Linked DNA regions of Homo sapiens: regions 2, 3, 4, 5, 6 and 7 are each linked to region 1. The links are contacts of gene promoters, found by promoter capture Hi-C in human tissues and cell types (Jung and others, 2019). All regions are on one chromosome and are shown on one strand. Each heading gives the region's core, a stretch centred on a gene start or on the middle of the fragment in contact. The rest is flanking DNA. Distances are from core to core; before and after follow the strand shown.

Evidence for each region. Contacts are between HindIII fragments. The study calls those that stand out against the background at their distance.
Region 2: the fragment with the promoter of PICK1 here is called in contact with the fragment with the promoter of DNAL4 in region 1 in 3 of the 25 tissues and cell types used here (bladder, lymphoblastoid cells and mesenchymal stem cells).
Region 3: a fragment that was not itself captured here is called in contact with the fragment with the promoter of DNAL4 in region 1 in 2 of the 25 tissues and cell types used here (lymphoblastoid cells and mesenchymal stem cells).
Region 4: a fragment that was not itself captured here is called in contact with the fragment with the promoter of DNAL4 in region 1 in 3 of the 25 tissues and cell types used here (H1 embryonic stem cells, dorsolateral prefrontal cortex and lymphoblastoid cells).
Region 5: a contact is called between a fragment that was not itself captured here and the fragment with the promoter of DNAL4 in region 1, in 1 of the 25 tissues and cell types used here (lymphoblastoid cells).
Region 6: a contact is called between the fragment with the promoter of TAB1 here and the fragment with the promoter of DNAL4 in region 1, in 4 of the 25 tissues and cell types used here (adrenal gland, dorsolateral prefrontal cortex, lymphoblastoid cells and 1 more).
Region 7: a fragment that was not itself captured here is called in contact with the fragment with the promoter of DNAL4 in region 1 in 5 of the 25 tissues and cell types used here (adrenal gland, bladder, heart left ventricle and 2 more).

What each region holds. Positions count from the first base shown.
Region 1 is chr22:38,792,884-38,795,406 of GRCh38, forward strand. DNAL4 (dynein axonemal light chain 4) reads right to left here and starts at 1,260. Exons shown (of 4, transcript NM_005740.3): 1 at 1,185-1,260. RefSeq lists a silencer at 1,002-1,451. The HindIII fragment of the contact is 13,707 bases long and covers 1-2,523 here.
Region 2 is chr22:38,056,145-38,058,667 of GRCh38, forward strand. It overlaps PICK1 (protein interacting with PRKCA 1), which reads left to right and starts at 1,260. Exons shown (of 13, transcript NM_012407.4): 1 at 1,260-1,443; 2 at 1,609-1,706. The coding sequence starts at 1,666. RefSeq lists enhancers at 712-1,337, 1,034-1,093, 1,338-1,961. The HindIII fragment of the contact is 14,484 bases long and covers 1-2,523 here.
Region 3 is chr22:38,094,396-38,096,918 of GRCh38, forward strand. The region is part of intron 7 of BAIAP2L2 (BAR/IMD domain containing adaptor protein 2 like 2); the gene reads right to left. Among named protein-coding and RNA genes, the nearest start is that of SLC16A8, 11 kb to the left of the region's middle. The HindIII fragment of the contact is 3,515 bases long and covers 1-2,523 here.
Region 4 is chr22:39,482,781-39,485,303 of GRCh38, forward strand. The region is part of intron 1 of MGAT3 (beta-1,4-mannosyl-glycoprotein 4-beta-N-acetylglucosaminyltransferase); the gene reads left to right. Among named protein-coding and RNA genes, the nearest start is that of MGAT3-AS1, 7.2 kb to the left of the region's middle. The HindIII fragment of the contact is 5,623 bases long and covers 1-2,523 here.
Region 5 is chr22:39,419,212-39,421,734 of GRCh38, forward strand. TAB1 (TGF-beta activated kinase 1 (MAP3K7) binding protein 1) reads left to right here. Exons shown (of 11, transcript NM_006116.3): 7 at 308-419. Among named protein-coding and RNA genes, the nearest start is that of TAB1, 21 kb to the left of the region's middle. The HindIII fragment of the contact is 5,458 bases long and covers 1-2,523 here.
Region 6 is chr22:39,398,516-39,401,038 of GRCh38, forward strand. TAB1 (TGF-beta activated kinase 1 (MAP3K7) binding protein 1) reads left to right here and starts at 1,265. Exons shown (of 11, transcript NM_006116.3): 1 at 1,265-1,320. The coding sequence starts at 1,288. RefSeq lists an enhancer at 1,204-1,323 and a silencer at 1,484-1,623. The HindIII fragment of the contact is 8,049 bases long and covers 1-2,523 here.
Region 7 is chr22:39,378,596-39,381,118 of GRCh38, forward strand. All of the region lies in intron 3 of SYNGR1 (synaptogyrin 1), which reads left to right. Among named protein-coding and RNA genes, the nearest start is that of TAB1, 20 kb to the right of the region's middle. The HindIII fragment of the contact is 3,186 bases long and covers 1-2,523 here.

The sequences.
Region 1 (2,523 bases), core at 10-2,509:
ACACATAAACAAGTAACAGTCATTTATTACCATTATCAAGTATGATGTCCTGTACACAATTGTATGTGCTATATTTTATATGACTGGCAGCACTGTAGGTTTGCTTACACCAGCATCACCACACACGTGAGTCATGCATTTTGCTTTGACATTACGATAGCTATGTAACTAGGTGATAGAAATTTGTCAGCTCCATTATAACCTTAGGGCACCACCGTGGTATCTGTGGTCTTTCTTGACCAAAACGTTGTTATATGGTACATGACTGTATTTCAATCTCCATCTGTCCCCTCCCCACCCCTAAGTAACCCTAACCATGGAAGCCCAGGAGGAAGATCAGAGAGGGTCAACTGGAGAAATGACAGTTCATGCTGACCGGGTTGATAACATTTCCCAGAGAGGGAAAATGTGGTGAAGAGACAAAGGAAAGAAACTAACAAATACTGAATCTATACTGGACTGGACTCTGTACTTCATATTAGCCTCAGAATTACCAAAGGAGATGCACCGACGTATACTGATTTTACATATGCACTGATTAAAAGCGCAGGGAGGGTAGGTCTTGAGACTGGGAATCCAAATTAGGTTTGCCAAGTTATTTTCACAATACACGATACCTCCCATTGGGGAGCACATCCTCTCGGAAGCCTAAAGTTGGGTCAAAGAACAACGACATCCTAGAACGTCAGAGTGGAAGAGGCCTTAGAGATCACTCAACTCAACTTCTCATTTACAGATGGGGAAACTGAGGCCCAAACAGGGGAAATGACCAGCCCAGAATCCCAGTAAGTCGCCAACTCTCCAAGCCAAGAGCGGTCTGACCTAGTTGATGGCGACCCCGCGGGAGAGGGAATTACTCCGCGAAAGGTCGAGGGATCAAGGTGCTGGGGGAAGTCGGCTAAAGGGGGACGCGGGACCACGAAGCTGGGCAGGCCTTGGGTGGGTGGGGAAGAGCAGCCGGCAGAGTCGCGATGGCAAACCTGTCACGACAGAGCTCGCAGGTCCCGAAGTGGGGGTGAGGGTGGGGGTTGAGGATGGGAAGACCTGGGGCAGGGGAACAGCAGGCAGGAGACCGAGGTGGGGCCTCGGCGGCGGGCGAGGCCTCTTCCGCCCTGCGTTGCCTCCCGCCCTCCCTCCGGGCCGGCCCTCCCCGCCTGGCTGCCCGCCGCGCCCCGGGGCCTCACCTGCTCCTGCGGGGGCCGGAGCCGGGGCCGCAGCCAGCGAACCCCCGCCAGGGTTGTCAAGGAGCGAAACAAGAGTGTCTTAGCAACCAGCAAGGAAGTCCTGCCCCCTCACCGGACGTTGACGAGAATTTCACTTATTATTGGTGGATAAAAGTATCAATCAGAGTGAAAGGCCCTTATAAGTCAGGCGTTTGCAAGGACAGGGGCGTGGTTTAGAGGCCAGGGAGGCGGGACTTCACTTATAGTTGTCTTAAGCGTGCCCGAGGAGCAGGGGACACATTGAAGTTCTTTTTCTAGGGAAACAAACTTCGAAAAGCAGTACTGCCTTGGGAGGTTCTTTTAGTCACTTGAAATAACAAATGCAACTTGTTGGTGTCGTGACACTTAGCCACTACTTTATTGGGATCTGAAAAGCCTGATAATAACTAGCATTTTTGTAGGGCTGTACAATTAATATCTCACTTGATTCTCATTACAGTACTTTTAGGTGATAATATTCGTCATCCCATCTGAACTAAAGTTCAGAGAGGTTAAGTAACTTGGTAAAGGATGGAGGTAATCTCCCTGGAGAAGGAACCCAGGGGCTCCTTCCTCTGTGCCACACCCTTGTATGGTCACCTAGCTCTAGTCACTAGGAGACATTTGTACCACCTAATTTCAGACACAGTTGCCCAGAGCCTGCCTTTTCTTCCCCTTGGGAGGGAAAATTAATCCGAAAGTACGGAGAAGGAAAAGGGGAAAGGGGAAGAACTGGCGGATTCTATTATTTGATTGGTAGATCAAAGGGTCAGTTGGGTACTTCGTAGTTTAAACCTTTATTATTGTGATGAGTACTTGGGGTGAAACCCCACTGCCACATTTACTAGCATTGAAGCTGTCTTTGCCAAAATTATAACTGAGGAAATTATGACAGTGAAAGAGATCAGACCTAACCCACTCCATCTTGCCTTTCTAGCCTTTAAGCTGTCTTTGTTCATTCCTAGGCATAGGCTGAACGAACCTTGGGAAGGAATTTAGTTTATAGTTTTACTCTGAAACAAAATTGACAATAGCCCTTTCCCAAAAAGGCTCCCTTCCTGCCTTGGGACCAGTCTGCCTTTGTAGGACTAACAAATTAGCTACAACATTAGAAATTATGGTTTAGGGGTCACACAGCAGCCTCTGGCTGCAAGAGTCTGAACCTTCCCAAATTGCTCCTGGGGATAACATCACTATTGTAAAACCTAAGATCAGCGCTTGAGATATTTTGCAGACCCTGCGCTCGATGGATCAGCTGACACCACCCAGACCAGTAATGTGGCTCAAACAGTTCTGTGATCCCACCCAGGAACAGAAGACA
Region 2 (2,523 bases), core at 10-2,509, 740 kb before region 1:
CTTCCCAGGGCCTCCGTTTCCTTGCCTGCACAATGTGGCTGGCAAGATTTGGTCTTCTCTCACAGGGTGGTGGTGAGCTTTCAAATCCTGTGAAAGTGATCTCACAGGAGAGCAGTGGACACGTGGGAAGGCTGTTATTGTCACGGCATTCTGCACATCTGTCCGGACTCAATTAGCCACCTAAGGAGAGAGTAGGGCGGGGCTTCCACCGGCCGTGGGATATGTGGATAATCATCCTTCTGTATCTTTCTTCCATGGCTCCTGGGGCAGCTGGGGAAGCAAGCTGGATGGGCCTGGCCCCATGCTGCCGGATGAGGTGGATGCCTGGCTGTGGCTCTGGGAGAGCCAACCTCCCCCAGGGAACCCACTTTACACAATAGCAGTGGCAGCAGAGGCTGGCGAGGAGACAAGATTCGGACTCTGGGGAGCACTGATAGCATTTCCCGAGCCTCAGGTACATGCGGACCGTGACCCTCCCTGGGACCCCAGGGGGGCTGCTCCTCAGGACTAAGGAAGGAGGAGGGGGTGTGAGAAACCTTTCACCATATACCATAGAAAGCATTTACCTCAATGGCCTTGGTTTACATATGGGGAAACTGAGGCACATAAAGGGAAGGGAGCATGTCCAGTCTGTCCTTAATAGCAAGACCCACTGAATACACCTCTCCTGGCTCTCTGTTTAGTGTTTGGACGTTCAAAGATCCCTAGACTAGGCGGCGGGAGTTTCAGGGCCACGATCCAGATCTTACACCAACTGTGTGTGGCCCCGCACAAAATCACTCCCCGCTCTTTGGCACTTAAGTTGGCGAAACTGGGATGGGCTGGGACCTCAAAGGGCCATTCTAGTAGGGGAGTCACAGGCCCAGGTGGTGAAGGGGTGAAAGGGCATGATGTCTTGGGGTTTATAGTCCACTGAGCCTCGCCGGAGGTAACCCCGGCTCAGGGATGCTTTCGTTGCCATGGCAACCGCCGGGCCGGCGCGGGCCCCTGAGTGCAGCTGAGGAAGCTGGGACAAACCCTGCCCTTCCCAAGATGGCGGCGGCGGCAGGGCAAAGGGCGGGGTTAGACGCTGTCAGCCTGTCCAGACCGTTCCTCTGTTTTCGCTTGTTCCTACTAACAGCGAGCTTCCGCCAATACTTGTTCTCGTTCTTGGTTCCGAGCGTCCCGGGAGCCGGGAAGGGAAGGATTGTCTGCAGGGATTGGAGCAAATATCCAGTGGGGGGAAAGCCGGGACTTCCGCGTCTTGCCGGAAGTGACGTGACAATCGCGGCCACCGCCAGGTGGAACGGCAGGTGGGTTCAGGTACCAGCCTGGCCGGGACCCGGCTGTGGGACCAACGCTTCCGGTGAGCGACAGAGGCAGCTCCCCAGGGCCTGGAGACCCGTGGGGCGGACTCTGGGATCTGAGCCTATCGCCCTGGCCTGGAGCCCCCCTTTGTACCTAGTAAGAATCACCTACCCAGCCCCCCACCCGGAGACTGTCCCATCCCACTCCAGAGGGAAGAGGAGGGCACTGCTGTCCCGTATGAGGTGGTGGAGGGAGGGGTGGCGTTGGCATTTAGGCACTTGGGTTCCTTAAATCCTATGCTCCTTTCTCTCCCGGATCCAGTTCCCCATTCCCCTACCGAGCTGGGCAGTTAGCCAGCCCACTCCAACTCTCGGAACCATGTTTGCAGACTTGGATTATGACATCGAAGAGGATAAACTGTGAGTATTTTATTCCCCCAAGTTCCAGCAGTATAGGAGCCCCAAGTTCCTCATTTCCCTGGACTTCCCAGTCCCACAGACCCTTGCTTCTCAGCGGTGGATCAGTTGTTGTACTGAAGCAGCAATGGACCCTGCTCTCCCAGGAGCTCACTATTTGTAGGGGGCTGTGGACAGTTAAAGGGATAATCACAGCTCAGTGCCATAAGGGCACTATTAGCATGACTTGGTGACAAGAAGAGCAAAGCAGATGGAGCAGTGCTTCTGCTGGGATGGTCAAGGAAAGCTTCATGGAGGACGTAGCAATTGAACCAGGTTTTGAAGGTTGAATAGGAATATTGTAGACACCCTTCCTTCCCAACATAGGTTGTTAGTAGGACAGATTTTCCCATTAGAATATATCCTCTTTCAGATCAAGGAGTGGGTGCAATGCCTTTCTCTATGCTCAGCACTTAGTAAGGGACTTGACGTCAGTAGGTTGTTAGCGAATGTTTTTTGAATGAATAAGTGAATCAGCGTGAGTACTTATCATAAAACACCAGTCAATGCTAATTTATAGTGGAAACCGAGAGGTAATCGAGCAGTTGAGAGGTGGGAGGTGGACAGTTTAATAGAGGAAGACTCCCTGGAGTAGGTGGCCATCATACTACATAGATGCCTGATAAGGTGACAAGGACAGAACCTGGCTCAAATCTCAGAGATCGAATAAATGAAAGGGAAGGGGGACCTATTTTTATGGAGTGCCTGCTATGGACTGGGTTGCTGTTAGTGCCCTCCATGCATGGTTAGAAGAACTCTGATAAGGGTGCTCATCCACATT
Region 3 (2,523 bases), core at 9-2,508, 700 kb before region 1:
GGGTGGCCTCGAACTCCTGTCCTCAGGTGATCCACCCGCCTCGGCCTCCCACAGTGCTGGGATTACAGGTGTGAGCCACCGCGCCTGGCCGAGGTACTGGGTTACTGTGGTGGAGGGTATTGAAAATATTTTAAGCTTGATAGTGGTGATGGATGCATGACTCTGTGAATATACTACAAACCAGAAAGTGTACACTGTAAATGGGTGAATCGTATGTGAATTATATCTCAATAAAACTGTTTTTCAAAAAAGGAAGTTGTTTCTCCCTGGCAGACCTTTTGTGGGATAGCAGGGGACGAGAAGGCTGAGCCTGGGGCCGGGTGAGGCGGTGACAGTGGGCAGATGAGAGCCTGAGCCGAAATCTGGGTCTTTGGATCCAGTCATGTATCCCTGGGCCCGTGGGTTCAGATCCAGAGACTCGGGGAGGGCGTGGGAGGCGTGGGAGGCGTGGGAGGGATAAGAACCCCAAGCCAGGACCGGGCGTGGTGGCTCATGCCTGTAATGCCAGCACTTTGGGAGGCCGAGGCAGGTGGATCACCTGAGGTCAGGAGTTCGAGACCACCCTGGCCAACATGGTGAAACCCTGTCTCTACTAAAAATACAAAAATTAGCTGGGCATGGTGGCGCACACCTGTAATCCCAGCACTTGGGAGGCTGAGGCAGGAGAATCACTTGAACCTGGGAGGTGGAGGTTGCAGGGAGCTGAGATTGCGCCACTGCACTCCAGCCTGGGCAACAGAGCAAGACTCCGTCTCAAAATAAATAAATACATACACACATAAATAAAATCAGTTTATCAAAATACAAGGGTCATGCTGCAGAGATGACTAGTGAGGTCTGAAACTAAGTCCTAAACTATCTTGGCAAAACCAGGAAGTGGAGGATGGGAAGGATGAAGACAGGAGTAAAAGCTTTCCAAAGGCCCCACCTCAGAATAGTTGGAGGGCAGGAAAATACTTCTTAAGGTATTATCTCATCTTTTTTTTTGAGACTTAGTCTCACTCTGTCGCCCAGACTGGAGTGCAGTGGCTTGATTTTGGCTCACTACAACTTCTGCCTCCCAGGTTCAAGCAATGCTCCTGCCTCAGCCTCCTGAGTAGCTGGGATTACAAGTGCCTGCCACCACGCCCAGCTAATTTTTGTATTTTTAGTAGAAACGGGGTTTCGCCATGTTGGCCAGGCTGGTCTCGAACTCCTGACCTCAAGCGATCCACCCACCTCGCGCTCCCAAAGTGTTGGGGTTACTGGTGTGAGCCACCGCGCCCAGCCTAATTTTTGTGGAAAGCTTTAAATCAAGGTCTCATCTTATGAATTGGCGGAGCGATGGACTGAACAGTGTGTGTCTGTAGTAGGGTGAAGTTGGCATTTTTGGAAAATAGGTGGATATATATGTGATTATGAAAGTCACAAAGTGAGGTCACCACAGGTAGAGAGAAAAAAATAGTGCAATTTCTAAATTAATAAAGGGAAAAGGGGAATGTATAGTATAATAACTCAACCAAACTGACAAGAAATAGTGTGGGAGAAAAAGAGGAAATGACAAAGTAAATACAGTTAGCTCAAGTTATCTAAAAGGAATAAAACCCAGGTATCTTCATTATTATGTTAAATGGGAATGGGCTGAATTCCTTTTCTATTAGAAGACACAGACTGTAAGACTGGTCAAAAACTCAAAAGTCAGTAACAGAAAGTATACTTAACATACAAAGAGATAAGCAAAGAGAAGAGAAAATAGAGCAGTATTAATATCAGACAAGGCGGAATTAAAAGCATCAAACTTAAGAGAGACATTAAGTACATAAATGGCAATATTTACAAAGAAGGTAGAATAGTTATAGCCAAAAAACGCCAAACAACATGGCAGCTCAATTCAGAAAGTGAAATCTATTAGAAATCCAATGAGAGATGAGAGAGTCTGACTAGTCTAGCAGACAGAACAATGCAAGAGCATAGAGGATTTAAATAATATGATAAAATGGCTGGGTATGGTAGCTCATGCCTGTAATCGCAGCACTTTGGGAGGCCGAAGCAGGCAGATCGCTTGAGGTCAGGAGTTTGAGATCAGCCTGGCCAACATGGCGAAACCCCGTCTCTACTAAAAATACAAAAATTAGCCGGGCGTGATAGCACATGCCTGTAGTCCCAGCTACTCGGGAGGCTGAGGCAGGAGAATCGCTTGAACCCGGGAGGGAGAGGTTGCAGTGAGCCGAGATTGTGCCGTTGCACTCCAGCCTGGGCAACAAGAGTGAAACTCTGTCTCAAAAAATAAATAAATAAATAATATGATAAAATTAATAGACGATAACTGAGCACACCTATCAATGAATTTGTGAATTGTGAGAATATACAAACAGGAATTAAAAAATGGTCCACACATGAATAAATAAATGCATGAATTCGTGAATGCATTAAAAACAAACAATATCACGAGTGAATAAATGAGTGAATATACAGTGATACAAGCAAACCCAGAAACAAAGGAAGAAATGGATGGAGATAGCAAAATAAAATGAATTTCTACAG
Region 4 (2,523 bases), core at 7-2,506, 690 kb after region 1:
TAGCAGCCTGAGTGATGAGGGAAACATGCCCAGATCCTTGATTCTCAGCAGCAACCCAGACTGAGGCCTTATTAAGGGGCCCTGTCCTGAAGGCTCCAGTGACTGAGAGGGGAGCTCCCAAGCACTGGTGAGTCCGTGCTCAGAAGGGCACAGCTGGCTATGAGTAACTAGATCCTGAAAGCCAGCCAAGGGGCAGCTGGGTCAATCTGACCTCAGCAGGTCCACGGAGGCCCTTTACGCCAAGCAGGCTGTTTCCTTGCCTCTCTGAGTTCCTCTTACCTTGCTTTGCTAAAGCCTTTGTTCATGCTGCCAGGGGATTTAGAGTCTGAATGGCAGCCCCAGGCCATGCCTGCCACATAGCTTACACCAGTTGTGTAACTTAGAGTGTCCCCCTCAGAGGCAGGTCCCAAGTACAGAAAAATAGCCCACTAAGGCTAGGCACAGTGGCCCACACCTGTAATCCCAGCACTCTGGGAGGCCAAGGCGGGCAGATCACCTGAGGTCAGGAGTTCGAGACGAGCCTGACCAACATGGTGAAACCCCACCTCTACTAAAGATACAAAATTAGCCGGTGTAGTGGTGCATGTCTGTAGTCCCAGCTACTCAGGAGGCTAAGGCGGGAGAATTGCTTGAGGCAGAGGTTGTGGTGAGCTGAGATCGCACCATTGCACTCCAGCCTGGGCAACAAGAGCAAAACTCCGTCTCAAAAAAATTAAAAAATTAAAAAAAAAAAGAAAAGAAAAATAGCCCACCAGAAGGATCCAGGCTGCCTTTCCAAGTCCTGAAACCCCAAGAGTAGGTTGCTCTGGAAGCTTCCGCCATGCTAACCCCGGCTGCAGTATTGCCTTGTGTCTGGTCCTGGCCACAGCACTCCTAGCCCCTTTTGCTCACCCAGCTGGTCCAGCCCAACTGGTCTCACTTTGCCAGACAAGGGCTGGAATCCAAAATGGAGAATGAAGTGCAGAAGACCCACTTCAAAATGTTATCAAGGAGCAGCCCCTCCTTCCAAACTCCAGTGGCGAACAGCCCCAGCTCTGCCCTGGGACATTTAGCAGAGGTCAGGCCCCTACCCCAGATTGTTCTACCTGCCCGCAGTCAGCTGTGCCCACTCCGTGTGGACAGCTCCAGGGGGGCAGGCGTTTACTGGAGGAGGGATATCTGAGCTCGAATGGGGCAAACGCTGCCCTGATTGTCGGGATCAGCAGCTCCACTGCTTCTTACCAGCCTGCTCAGGACTCCTCGCAAGCTGAGGTCATGAGGGGCACCTGGTGCAGGAGCCCAGCTGCCCGGTTCACACTCCAGCTCTGTTGTGACTTTGGGCAGGTCCCTGAAGGCCCCTAGGTCCTGGTTTCCTCCTCTATAAAATGAAAGAGTTGGAGGAGATGGTCCTTAAAATTTCTAGATCAATCGTGTTGTGATTCTGTGCCTTACGACCATGTGGCTTGTAGAAAATTAAACTGCGGGCATCCAGCCTTGAGCATTGAAGGGAACAAGAGCTTATTGAGCATGCTGCATGCCAGGAACTCTGTGCCCATTTCACAGATGGAGAAACTAAGGTTCAGAATGATTAGGAGCCTTGTTTTTTTTTGTTTGTTTGTTTGTTGTTTTTTGAGACGGAGTCTCACTCTGTTGCCCAGGTTGGAGTACAGTGGTGCGATCTCGGCTCACTGCAACCCCCACGTCCCTGGTTCAAGCGATTCTCCTGCCTCAGCCTCCCTAGTAGCTGGGATTACAGGTGCCCACCACCATGACTAGCTAATTTTTGTATTTTTAGTAGTGACAGGGTTTCACAATGTTGGCCAGGCTGGTCTCAAACTCCTGACCTCTGGTGATCCACCTGCCTCAGCTTCCCAAAGTGCTGGGATTACAGGCGTGAGCCACCACGCCTAACCCAAATTCCTATCTTTCCACCCTACCTTGCTGTCCTTAAAAAGTAGGGAGGCTGGCCATGGTGGTTCATGCCTGTAATCCCAGCACTTTCAGAAGCTGAGGCGGGCAGATCACTTGAGGTCAGGAGTTCAAGGCCAGCCTGGCCAACGTAGTGAAACCACATCTGCACTAAAAATACAAAAGTTATCAGGGCATGGTGGCACACGCCTGTAATTCCAGCTACTTGGGAGGCTGAGGCAAGAGAATTGCTTGAACCTGGTAGATGGAAGTTGCAGCGAGCCAGGATCTAGCCACTGCACTTCAGCCTGGGTGACAGAGTGAGACCCTGTCTCAAAAAAAAAGTGAGGGGGAGAGCATGACCCAGAGAAAGAATCAAAAATAAAGAGAAGCCACAGATGGGAACATTTTAAGAATATCTAGGTGGGACAGTGCCAGATGCCAAAGGCAAGGTTTCTGTCTCAGCCTTTTCTGTGACTCAGTGGGTTCCCCCCGGACAGGTCACTGGTCTCACTTGGCCCCACCCAGCATCTTCACTGGTCAAATGGATGTAAACTCCTGGCTCGCCTGCCCACCTGCCTAGACTCAAGGGTGAAATGAGCTGGATGGCTACGGTCGGAGGTGCTCTGTGGCTGC
Region 5 (2,523 bases), core at 18-2,517, 630 kb after region 1:
CTTCCCTTCCCAGTGAGCTCCAGGCAGATGTGGGGCACACGGGATGGGCAGGGAGACGGCAGGCAAGCTGCTCCGTGCCAGGTGGTGCCTGGAGGACGGGCTCTGAGTGAGGTGTGTCGTGATGGGCGTGGGGACTGAGGACACCAGGGACTTTGGGTCAGCTGCTCTCCCAGGTGCCCTGGTGTTGTCTTCATTTCCTATTCAGTGGGTCCTTATTGCCTTCTTCCCATGACTGTGTCTCTGTCCCCTTCTTTTTGTTCCTCTTTGTGAACAAGAAGCAGGATTGTTGCACTGTTTCCCTCCGTAGGCTTGGATGCTGGAAAGATCAAGCAGGTGGGGATCATCTGTGGGCAGGAGAGCACCCGGCGGATCGGGGATTACAAGGTTAAATATGGCTACACGGACATTGACCTTCTCAGGTAGGTGCCAGCCCAGCTGTCCCCTGTGCTTGAAAGAACAGAAGGTCCTAGGGAGGCCAAGATGGGAGGATTGATTGTGCTGGGAGGTCGAGGCTGCAGTGAGCCGTGATCATGCCACTGCACTCCAGCCTGGGCAACAGAGCAAGACCCTGTCTCAAAAAAAAAAAAAGGTCCAGAAGGCCTGGGGCAGACGCAGACTGTAGGCCCCAGTGACACATGTGCAGTCAAAGTAGTTCAGAGCCCAGGCAAACTCTTTCTTCCTCCCAGAGAGGTTGGTTTGGGGCAGGTTAGGCCCAGCAGGCCAGGAGTTGGGTACTGTAGAAACAAGGGGTGGAGTTGAGCTGGGCCAAAGCTGAGGGCAGCAACTAGTGCCACAAGGGAGGCAGGCGAAGCCAGAGTTGGCATGGGATGGACAGACCAGGCCTGTTGGTCGGTGCTGCCCATGGCTGCAGCAGAGGTGTGAGATGAATTGTGTATTTCCCTCTGAGGACACCTCCTCTGGACATCACCCCAGCGCTCATGGCAGCAGAATGGGCAGTCATCATCACACGGCCAAGCCCGTGCAGAGCTCTGGATGTACCTTCTTTTATGCATTCCCTACTCAGGCCCCCTGAGGCAGTCACTGCCATCACCCCAGAGGCATTTTCATAAGAGGAAACTGAGGCATGGAGACATCAGGCAGCCCACCCTGGTCATGGGGCTTGAACACAGGCAGCCTGAATTTGGAATATGTGTCCTTAACCGTCAGGTAACCTGTATGTGAAGTGTTGGTTGGGGAGATAGGCGCGTCCACTTGCCTGATGCCAATCATGGCATTTAATGTCATGGCCAAGGCTGTTCCCAAAGCCAGAGTTCCCATCAACAGAGGCCTCATGGCCTAGAAAGTGCATGTTAGAACTCCTTGCCCTCACGCGATCTAGGCAACTGAGTGTCGAATATTTGTCCCTAATTTGTGGGGTCCTGTTTCCTTTATTGGAAAGGACATCCATAGTTTAAAACACTTCAGACAGTGCTGGGGTCTATACAGGGAAAGGAAGTCTTCCTACACCACACTCTAGGACTCGCTGCCTCCCCAGAGGCTGCTAGTTTCTTGTGTATCCTGTTCCAAAATCTGGCCACATGCACATATACACACACGGTGTCTCTGTGTGTGTGTGTGTGTGTGTGTGTGTGTGTGTGTGTGTGTGTTTGTCCTGGGGGCCAAGGAGCCTGCATCCTTTTCGGAACACCCAGGTGCTGGGGTGTCTCTCTCTGTGTGTGTGTGTGTGTGTGTGTGTGTGTGTGTGTGTGTGTGTGTTTGTCCTGGGGGCCAAGGAGCCTGCATCCTTTTCGGAACACCCAGGTGCTGGTGTGTCCTGCCCCTCCCAGGTGCTGGTGTGTCCTGCCCCTCCCAGGTGCTGGTGTGTCCTGCCCCTCCCAGGTGCTGGTGTGTCCTGCTCCTCCTTCTTTTCTTTTTTTTTAAACCCTAAGGTGTAATTGGCATATGCAAAGCTGTGCCTATTTCATGCATACAACTTGATGAGTTTGGAGATATGTTTACACACCCCTCACTGCTATCATTAAAGGTGCTCATCTCTTCATTCTGCTCACCTGCAGTTAGGATGGCGTCATTCTGTGTAATAACCGCTCCCAGGGCCCAGCCCTGGCTGACGGACCCTCAGGAAGTTCTTAGACTCCGCTCTTCTGGATGGTGTTGCCAGCACCTCCTCATGTACTTACCTCCATGTGCACACACATGTGTTGGCATGTAATGACTCTGACCCCAGTCACTAAAGGATCCCTGTACACATGGAGAGTATCTGGGGTCTCAGCCATCTGTTTTGGAAAAGCCCAAATAATAGCAAGAGGCTTGGGCTCCCAGGGATAATCCCTCCCTCTTGCTGTCCCACACCCTGCCCTGCCACCACCGGACCCTGTGAACAGGACGTATGGAACAGGCCAGAATCGGGCATTCAACCTTTGCCATCCTGACCTCAGCTGCCTGCCAGTTTTTATGGCCTTCCAAGCTTTATTTTAGCAGCTGCTGTAAGACGATGGGTCTATTTTTCTGACCTTCTCTTTCTCTCTTTTCTTTTCCTCTTGTCAGGTTGTGTGTTTTATTTTA
Region 6 (2,523 bases), core at 15-2,514, 610 kb after region 1:
CACTCACTGCAACCTCCACCTCCCAGGTTCGTGATTCTCCTGCTTCAGCCTCCCAAGTAGCTGGGATTACAGGCGTGCACCACCATGCCTGGCTAATTTTTTGTAGTTTTAGTAGAGATGGGGTTTCACCATGTTGGCTGGACTGATCTCGAACTCCTGACCTCAGGTGATCCACCGGCCTCGGCCTCCCAAAGTGCTGGGATTACAGGCATGAGCCACCGCGCCTGCCCCCGGCAGAATGTCTTATATACATAAATGTTGTCCTCTCCAATTAAAATGTTAACATTTTAGGTTGGGCGGGGTGGCTCACACTTGTAATCCCAGCACTTTGGGAGGCCCAGGCAGAAGAATCGTTTTAGGCCAGGAGTTTGAGACCAGCCTGGCCAACATAGCGGTACTCCGTCTCTACAAAAAATGTAAAAGATTAGCTGGGCGTGGTGGCGGGCGCCTGTAACCCCAGCTACTCGGGAGGCTGAGGCAGGAGAATCGCTTCAACCCGGGAGGCAGAGGTTGCAGTGAGTCCAGATCACGCCACTGCATTCCAGCCTGGGCGACAGAGCAAGCCTCCGTCTCAAAAATAACATAACATAACATAACATAAAATAATAATAAAATGAAATGAAATAAAATAAAATAAAATGTTAGCTTTTTGAAGGCCTGTCCTGCTCGCTGCAGAACCCACTATAGAGCCAAGCAGGGTCACCTAGGTAGCATTTGCTGAGTGAATGAATTGTCCTCCCCTTACCAACTGTGTTCACAAAGAACCCTCAGGAGTTCAAGACCAGCCTGGCCAACATGGCGAAACCCCGTTTCTACTAAAAATACAAAAATTAGCCGGGCGTGGTGGCTCATGCCTGTAGTCCCGGCTACTCCGGAGGCTGGGGCAGGAGAGGCGGGCACCTGTAATCCCAGCTACTCGGGAAGCTGAGGAAGGAGAATCGCTTGAGGCCGGAAGGCAGAGGTTGCAGGGAGCTGTGATCGCGCCACTGCACTCCAGCCTGGGTGACAGAGTGAGACCCTATCTCAAAAAATAATAAAGATGGGCGAGGAGCAATCGGCCCCGAGGAAAAGACAAAACAAAACAACAACAACAACAACAACAACAAAACGTGCAAGAGCGCGCCTGCGCACACGGTCCGCTACGACCCCCATCCCTCTTCGGGCGTGGGGTGGCGCTGGGCGCATGCTCCCCGGCAGCGCGGTCATCCTCGCCTCCTTCGGGCCGCTCTAGCCGCCCCACTCGCTGCTCTGCGGGGAGGCGGGCGCTCCCGCAGGGGTTCCTCCAAGATGGCGGCGCAGAGGAGGAGCTTGCTGCAGAGTGTGAGGAACAGGCCCGCTCTCTGGGCTTGGGGTTGGGAGCCTGGGCGGGGGTGCTGTCGGGTGCAGGAACGGCTCCTTCTCCGAGTTTGGACAGCCACCCTCTCCGTGGTGGGGTGTGTCAGCCACCTTCTCCTCTCCTCGGGCTGGCCCCCTCGTTCCCGAGGCCAGGGCGTGTGTGCGCGGCGGGCCCGGCCCCCGGGTCAAGGGCGCCGGGGCTGTGGGCTGCTGCTGCCGGGCGTCGAGGGCGGGAGCGTCCTGGAGCCAGAAGGGAACACGGCGGGCGGCAGCAGAGCTATCCGAGTCTCGAGCCCACTGCGACACCGAGCAGACGTGCAATGATAATAACAGCAGCATCCACAGTGTACCGCTTACTGCATCCCCGGCGTTGTGTTAATTGCTTTACATTTGTCAGTTTCATTTTCGTAGCAGCCCCCTGAGATAGGTGCTACTGTTATTCCTATTTGACAGACTGAGACACTGAGGTGGTCGTTTGCCTAAGGCCACACAAATGGTACGTATTGAGGCAGGATTAAAATCAGGCAGTGTGATTCCAGAAACCCCCTTAACCCCTGGGCTGTACTAAAGGAATGACCAGTGGTAGCTGTCACTGGGTTCTGGTCCTGGCTCTGACTGTGTCTCCCTCAGCCTCAGTTTCCTTCTCCTAAGGCGAGAGCGCTGAGTGGAAGAATTGTCTTCAGACTCATCCCTACCCCCGGTCTGGACCCTCATGGGTTTGGCGCTGTCTTCCAGGCCCTGCGTCCTCTGACGCGTATGTGCACATAGATGCACACACATGTTGGCACCATGGACTACTCTGACCTACCAGGGTAGGGTGCTGGCCTCCTGGGTCCTTCCTATGCATGGCACTGTTAGAATTGTCTATGGACTTGTCTGCCTCCTGTACTAGAAAGTAAACTCCGCCGGGCGCGGTGGCTCATGCCTGTAATCCCAGAACTATGGGAGGCTGAGGCGGGTGGATCACGAGGTCAGGAGATCAAGACCATCCTGGCCAACATGGTGAAACCCCGTCTTTACTAAAAATACAAAAATTAGCCGAGCGTGGTGGGGGCGCCTGTAGTCCCAACTATTCGGGAGGCTGAGGCAGGAGAATTAGCTTGAACACAGGAGGCGGAGCTTGCAGCGAGCCAAGATCGGGCCACTGCACTCCAGCCTGGAGCGACAGAGCGAGACTGTGTCTCAAAA
Region 7 (2,523 bases), core at 8-2,507, 590 kb after region 1:
GACAGTTCCCCCAAAGCAATGCCTCAACCCTGCGAGGGCCTGAGCACATCGAGAGTGAGCTTCCTGGCACTGGAGGCATCCCAGTGCAGATGCAGACTGCCTGCTGCACGCTGGAGATGCTGCAGAGAGAGCACCTACACTGAGAAAGTGGGGCCAGGGGACCACCAGGTCCCTGGGCTCTCAGTAGAACTCCCATCCTCCCTCTGCAGCCCAGGCCAGCGGGGGCCCAGGCCTCTCCTTTGCTCCTGTCTTGTGGCCCCTTAAACTGGTTGCCCAAATGAAGCTTTGACTTAGTGAGGGCAGAGAGCTGAACACAGAGACAGTATGAGTGCCTACAGCCAGAGGCATCTCCCTAGAAGGATCAGTAGGGGTCATCTGCTCCAGCCCTCTGCCTCTGTACAGGAAACCAGCCTGGATAGTAGAGCCAGGGAGCTCGGGGAGAACCGCGTCTACAGACATTGCTCTCAAGGTTCATTCAGTCAGTTCCTGTGGGCTGGCCAGGGCTCAAGTGTACCCTCAGGGGGCTCTTCACCTCCCCTGCTTCTTCAGGCTCCGGCGTCTGAGCCCCCAGCAGCCAGGACCTCATGCTAACATAGTGGGAAACCCCAGAGGGCTACACCTTATCCCTTAGCCCAATTTCTTTAGACCTAGTCTGCCTTTCCCAAGGTGCTGGCACTTTGCTTTAAATACCCACCTCCCAGAAAGTGCTTCCCCTCAGAACTTTGGTCAATGAGTACAATCAAAAGGTAATGCCCTAGCTGGGCATGGTGGCTCATGCCTGTGATCCCAGCACTTTGGGAGGCCAAGGCAGGCGGATCACCTGAGGTCAGGAGTTTGAGACCAGCCTGGCCAACATGGCAAAACCCCGTCTCTACTAAAAATACAAAAATTAGCTTGGTGTGGTGGCGGGTACCTGTAATCCCAGCTACTTGGGAGGCTGAGGCAGGAGAATCACTTGAACCCAGGAGGCAGATGTTGCAGTGAGCCAAGGTTGTGTCATTGCACCCCATCCTGGGTGACAGAGCGAGACTCTGTCTCAAAAAAAAAAAGAAAAAAAAAAAGGAAATGCCCAGTCACTGGGTTTCTGGAACTTTGTGGAATAAAACGCTAGGTATATTCACTCTCTACCTCTTCACTAAGTGGCTCTTTAGGTTGTTGGTTGACTTAGTGCCTCGTCAGGGGCCAGTGAAAGGGAAGGAGGTGAGGGCGCCCTGACCTGGGAAGGGGTAGGACCCCATGTTTAGGGAAGGGTTCTAGCAGTAACTCTGCCACGGGCACTTCCTTTTCTAGGCCTCAATCTTCCCAGCCCTAAAACAGGGGTCTGGAGAGTATCAGCACATTCCCATCACAGGCAGATTCCCCGGGCCGGGAAAGTTTCTGGAGAAGGCTTTTGCAATAAACCTCTAAGCTGCTTTTCTAATGACAAGTTTGATTTACTTAAACTTTGACTTAGCTCAGTGTGGTCAGTGTCATTGTCCTTAATAACAATGTAATTGCTTTTATTGAAAAATAATTTCCTAACCATGCATGTGTGCTGTAGACAAGTCTTTCCCAATCTGAGATCTGTGAAAAAAAAAAAAAAAACGGGGCGGCTTCAGGCTAGGCGCGGTCACATTGAATAGTCAGGGCTCTGCCAAGTCAGATGATCCTGAAACTTGTTTCACTCTATTTAACTCAGTTTCTCACTTAGAATTAGGTTCAGCAGCAGGTGACCGAAATCCCAGATAACAGTGATTTCAACAAAGTCCAAGGCTGTGGAAGTGGTCCAGGGCTGGCATACTGGCTCCAGAGGTCTTCGGTGACCCAGGCATCTTTCCTTTTTTTTAGAGACAGGGTCTCACTCTGTTGCCCAGGCTGGATCATAGCTCACTGCAGCCTCAAACCCATAGGCTCAGGCAATCCTCCCACCTCAGCCTCCTGAGTAGCTGGGACTACAGGCCAGTACCACTATGCCCGGCTAATTTGGTTTTTGTGGATTTTTTTGGTAGAGATGGGGTCTTGCTATGTTGCCCAAGCTGGCCTTTTTTTTTTTTTTTTTTTTTTTTGAGACAGTCTCACTTTGTTGCCCAGGCTAGAGTGCAGTGGCGCTGTCTCAGGGTACTGCAACCTCCGCCTCCTGGGTTCAAGCGATTCTCCTGCTTGCACCTCCCGAGTAGCTGGGATTACAGGTGATGCCACCATGCCCAGCTAATTTTTTTAATTTTCAGTAGAGATGGGGTTTCACCATGTTGGCCAGGCTGGTCTCAAACTCCTGACCTCAAGTAATCTGCCCATCTTGGCCTCTCAAAGTGCTGGGATTGCAAGCATGAGTTGTCGCGCCTGGCCTCTCCTGCTTTCAAGAAGAAGATCAGATTGTTATTGTGCCTGCTGTTTTTCAAGTGCCTTTAACTCAACATAGTCAATATGCCAGAGGTGCATATTTTAGCCCAGGCTGGTCTTGATCTCCTGGCCTCAAGCAATCCTTCCACCTTGGCCTATCAAAGTTGTGGGATTACAGGCATGAGCCGCGGTGCATGGCCCCCA